Linked DNA regions of Homo sapiens: region 1 is linked to region 2. The links are contacts of gene promoters, found by promoter capture Hi-C in human tissues and cell types (Jung and others, 2019). All regions are on one chromosome and are shown on one strand. Each heading gives the region's core, a stretch centred on a gene start or on the middle of the fragment in contact. The rest is flanking DNA. Distances are from core to core; before and after follow the strand shown.

Region 1 (2,700 bases), core at 134-2,633, 1.3 Mb after region 2:
TTCTCATCTGTAAGACTGGGATGATAATACCCTCCTCCTAGGGCTGTTTTGAAGATTTGATGAATGAATGGACGTAAGGCAATTAGAACAATGTCTGGAACATAATAAGCTCTGTATGCGTTTCTAAAACTTTTTTTTATCATGGAATATTTCCAATACAGACAAAAGTAGAGAAAACAGTAGATGTGGAGCATTCTTGATCTGAAAATCTGAAATCCAAAATGTTCCAAAATCCAAAACTTTTTGGGCACCAACAGGACGCCACAAGTGGAAAAGTCCACACCTGACCTCATAACACATGAACTTTGTTTCATGCACAAAATTATTTTAAATATTGCATAACAACACCTTTGGGCTATGTCTATAAGGTATATATGAAACATAAATGAATTTCATGTTTTGAGATGGATCCCATCCCCAAGATACCTCATTATGATATGTAAATATTCCAAAATCCGAAAACTCTGAATTTGAAACACTTCTGGTCCCAAGCACTTTTTGTTTAAGGGATACTTGCCTGTATAATAAATCCCTATTTACCCATTGCTGAGTTTCCATAATTGCCAATTTAAGGTCAATTGTGTTTCATCTATATTTTCATCCATTTCCCCCCAGTTTTAGGTTATTTAGAAACAAATTACAGACTTTACATAGTTTTACCAGTAAATATTTCAGGAAGTATCTCTAAAGGTAAAGACTCTTCATTTTATTTTATTTATTCTTTAGAGACAGAGTCTCACTCTACTGCCCAGGCTGGAGTGCAGTGGCATGATCACAGCTCACTGCAGCCTCAAACTCCTGGGATCAAGAAATCCTCTTGCCTCAGCCTCACAAGTAGCAGGGATTAGAGGTACACGCTACCGTGCCCAGCTAATATCTTTTTTTTTTGTAATTTTTGTAGAGATGGGGTCTCATTGTATTGCCCAGGCTGGTCTTGAACTCCTGGGCTCAGGCAATCCTCCTGCTATGGCCTCCCAAACTGCTGAGATTACAGGCGTGAGCCACCACACTTGGCTGAGCGCTCTTTATTTTAAACATAACAACAATATCATTATCTCACCAAAAAATAATTAACACGTTACCATTATCACACCTTGAAATTGAACTTTTGTCTCCCTTGGCCTCTGCTATATCCCCAGGCGCTAGAATAAGGTCTAGCATATGGTAGGTGCTCAATAAATAGGTGTTGAATACAAGAGCGACTTCTCTCCTTGCTTTAAAGGCCTCTGAAGCTTCCTCCATTCAGTTAGATTTGTCTGCTATGTACACACTTTCATATTAACTTTGGTTTGAATACTATTTAATATCTTATAGTCCTGGGGGTGGGGGTTAGGAGGCACTGGGGAGGTATGAGAGCATCAACTATATTCAACAAACATCTCCTGCCCCCCTGCTGAATGTCTAGCCCCATCTCAGGCCCTGGGATGCAGGGGTGGTATAAGGCACCATTGAATGAAACCAGCTCAAAGTTCATGTAGAAGAATGCAGAGCCGGGAACAACCAGATCCTGCGAAAGAGAAGAATATGGGGGAAGAACGTGGCTTATTAGAGATCAGAACATATTAAGGCCCCTATAATCAAATCTGAATGGTGCTGGTGAGGAAGCGATACACAGATCAGTGGAACAGAACAGACAGCTCAGAACTAGATCAAAGTATTCATGAGAATTTAATATGTGGCAGAGATGGTATTTCAATTATGCTGGAAAAGGAGCAACTGTTTTATTAATCATGCCAGCACAACCAGCTAGCTTTTGTAAGAAAGTTGAAACCTCCTCTTACAATCACACACATAAATAAACCCCAGATGGATTAAAGAGTTAACAGCCCCCAACATTAAAATAATAAATATCTTGGGAGAAAATGTAGGAAATGACAAGGGTGATCTCAGAGCATTTTTAAAAACACCAAGAGAGTCATATTTTTAAAGAAAGACATATTTTACTACATAAAAATTACTTTTGTGGCAACAGATATTCACAACATTGATATAAAAACAAAAGATTTAAGCACAAAACTATTTGCAACACAGATATCAAGCAAAATGTTAATATCTATATATACAAAGAGCTGTTATAAACTGATAAGCAATGAACAAGGAGAACTGGAGTTAGGCAAAGGATAAAAATAGGCAAGACATAGTACAAATCTAAATGGCCAACAAACATACAACAATATGCACACTCACTATTGTATAGGACATTAACTGAGATTTCACTTTGCCCCTATTAGACAGGCAAAAATTAAAAATAATGCTAACACCTGTTGCTGGAATGGCTGCTGGGAAACAGTAGGAAAGCACTCATGAATTGTTGGAGAAAACGCAAAGTGTTACAGCACTTTTGGAAAGCAATCTGGCAACATTGACTAAAATAAAAAATACATAGTCTCTTCAATTGAGCAATCCCCCTCCTGGGAATCTATTCCATCAAAATAAAATCTCCAGTTAGAAGGATGTATGTACAAGGAGGTTTATGGCAGCACTGCTTATAGCAGAGGGAAAAAAAAATTGGAAATAAAGTGAACGTCTGTCAATAGAAGACTGGATGAAGAAATTATAGTAGTTCCTCACTTTGAAAAATGATGGTGCCATTAAAAGAATGAATTAGAGCTGCAGAGGCTGACTTGGAGGGATTCCCACGGGTGGTGGTGTTTGAATGAGTAAAGCAAGACACAGAAAGGGTGCCTCGTATAATCCCAT
Region 2 (2,752 bases), core at 237-2,736:
GGAAGAGAAGGGAGGCGGGGGGAGGAGGGTTGGCAGCGCCGGGGGTGGCGTCGAGGAAAACTGGGGGGAGATTGTCCAAGGCCAGCAAGCGAGAGAAAGAGAAAACCCTTATCAAACTCCTAATTCACTGGGCTCCGAGGCCCCAGACACACTGGCCCGATTGTCTGGCTGGTTGTGTGTGTGAGCATGTGTGTGTGTGTGTGTGTGTGTGTGTGTGTGTGTTCCAGTGTCTGCTCCCCCCACCCCCAACATGCCTCTGCCTCGTGTGACTACCTCATTGTGTCCCATTTCCCACCCCCTACACCCCTTTGGACTTTCCCAAGCATGAGGCCTTGCCTCCCCAGACCCTTTGCAGCCCACTCCAGACAGGACCCCTTGGGGTGGTCTTGGGGCTTTGCCCTGCTGTTGAGGAGCTCAGAACGTCACATGGTTGCCAATGCGACCCCAGCTCCATTACATAACCCACATACACCCCACCTCGGCCTCAACACCCCGGCGGGGCTGCCCTCAGTTAAGAGAACAGCACTGCGACCTTTGGAGGAGAGGCCAAGGAAAGAGAGAGAAAAAGGTGTCAACGGAGGATGGGCAGGAAAGAAAAGGGGAGGGAGGGAGAGGTGGGCAGAGGAGGGAAGAGGCAGGGCAAGTCCCCACCCCTTGTTGGGGTGGGGGAGTAGAGGACTTCGTGACAATCAGGACTAGGACTCCCCTACCCTCTCCCAAGACAGGGTGAGCCCAGTGTGGAAGGAGCTGGGTCCCAGTAGGTAGCAACCCAAAATGCCTCTAAGACCTACTGAGAGAGGGCCCCCAACCTGTCCCACCTTGGCCTCCTGGCAGCTTTAGTCTTGTGTTTCCACCTTGAACCAGACCAGAACGCGCGTGTGCTGGGTGTCTGCAGAGAAGGGACCAGGGGTCAAGCTGGGGCTCTGCACTTCTCAGAGGGATCCCTGAGAAGTCTCTCTTACTGTGCAGGATGGGGCAGAAAGGGCTGCCTGGGAAAAGGTAGGAGGCAGGGTGAGGAGCTGGGCATCAGTGCCTGGCACACACTAGGCACTCAACAGGATTTCGCAGACGAAGCAGCTAGGGCCAGCCACCCTCACGGGCCCCCAGGACCCTCACCGCCTTCACGTCTCTCCCTAGTCCCCTGCCAAGTGCCCATCCTGCCACCTGAGGCAGACGTTAGGAGTCCTGGTTGGGCCCAATTTTCTTCCATCCAACAGGTTCTGACCCTCCAGCCTACATCTCTTCCTTCCTCGGCCTAACCTCCCCTCCACCTCCCAGACTAAGCCCAAGATAAGCCTCAGCAAGATGGGCCTGGGCAGTAGGGCAGGGAGCTGGGTGGGGGGGCCTGGGCTCCGGGTGGAGGAGCCCTGAGTGTTGGGGATGAAGGAAAGCCTGGAGGCTCCACCTTCTGCCCTTCCCTCCCTCCTCTCCCCTCCCCCCTCTCCCCCTCCTTCCTTCCCCAGCCCTCCGCAGCGGCTCAGGCTCAGTCGCTCAGTCAGTCTCGGGCTGTCCGGCCAGGGTGGTTGGTGGTAAGGATTCAGGCTCCGTCCTAACGAGGCCGTGGCCTGAGGCTCAGGGCCCCCCGCCCCTCCCTCCCAGCCCACCAGCGTCACCTCCCAGCCCCGAGCTGGACCGCACACCTTGGGACACGGTTTTCCACTTCCTAAGGACGAGCCCCAGACTGGAGGAGAGGTCCGAGGAGGTGAGTGCGCAGCCTGCTCCTCCCTGGCCCGCCCAGGCCTGGGACCCTGCTGTGAGGTGGAGAGAGGCGACACCCCGCCCTTGCCCCCCACCTGGCTCTCCTCTAAACCCCGTTGGGGCAGGCTGAGGGAAGAAGGAAAGGTGAGAGAAAAGGTGGGAAATTCCAGGGGCCGGGATTAGAGCAAAATAAAGGCTCCGTTTTTTTCTTCCTTATCATCAACAAACCTCCACCCAAAAAAGGAGGCTAAAAAAAAAGCCACCCACACCAAGAGACGGTTGGGACCAGGTGGTGGGAAGACACAGAGGCGGGACGCACCCACCTAGAGTCTGGCATGTGCGTGGGCCCCAGGGGCCAGATGGGTTTAGCTGGAGCAGGAAGGGCCGCCACCTCGGGGCTGTGCCCACGTCCTGTCTCGGGCCGCCCTCGGGGCTGCGCGCGCGGCCGCTCCATCGCGCCCTCCTTCCATCCAGGTGGGCGTTGGACTCTTTGCGAGGACCCCGGCGGCTGGCCCGGGGGAGGCGGCCGAGGCGGCGGCGGCGGCGGCCGGGGGCGACATGGCGGAGGAGCAGGACCTATCGGAGGTGGAGCTGAGCCCCGTGGGCTCGGAGGAGCCCCGCTGCCTGTCCCCGGGGAGCGCGCCCTCGCTAGGGCCCGACGGCGGCGGCGGCGGATCGGGCCTGCGAGCCAGCCCGGGGCCAGGCGAGCTGGGCAAGGTCAAGAAGGAGCAGCAGGACGGCGAGGCGGACGATGACAAGTTCCCCGTGTGCATCCGCGAGGCCGTCAGCCAGGTGCTCAGCGGCTACGACTGGACGCTGGTGCCCATGCCCGTGCGCGTCAACGGCGCCAGCAAAAGCAAGCCGCACGTCAAGCGGCCCATGAACGCCTTCATGGTGTGGGCTCAGGCAGCGCGCAGGAAGCTCGCGGACCAGTACCCGCACCTGCACAACGCTGAGCTCAGCAAGACGCTGGGCAAGCTCTGGAGGTGAGCACCCGACCGCCCCCCGGGCTCGGGCCCTCTAGCTTCGGGTGGATTCAGGGTAGCCGAGGCGG

The links. Contacts are between HindIII fragments. The study calls those that stand out against the background at their distance.
Region 1: a fragment that was not itself captured here is called in contact with the fragment with the promoter of SOX10 in region 2 in 1 of the 25 tissues and cell types used here (lymphoblastoid cells).

What each region holds. Positions count from the first base shown.
Region 1 is chr22:36,715,402-36,718,101 of GRCh38, reverse strand. All of the region lies in intron 1 of CACNG2-DT (CACNG2 divergent transcript), which reads right to left. Among named protein-coding and RNA genes, the nearest start is that of CACNG2-DT, 13 kb to the right of the region's middle. The HindIII fragment of the contact is 3,277 bases long and covers 1-2,700 here.
Region 2 is chr22:37,983,289-37,986,040 of GRCh38, reverse strand. SOX10 (SRY-box transcription factor 10) reads left to right here and starts at 1,486. Exons shown (of 4, transcript NM_006941.4): 1 at 1,486-1,702; 2 at 2,173-2,684. The coding sequence starts at 2,257. It also overlaps a transcript of POLR2F not described here. RefSeq lists enhancers at 1-425, 2,380-2,752. The HindIII fragment of the contact is 28,697 bases long and covers 1-2,752 here.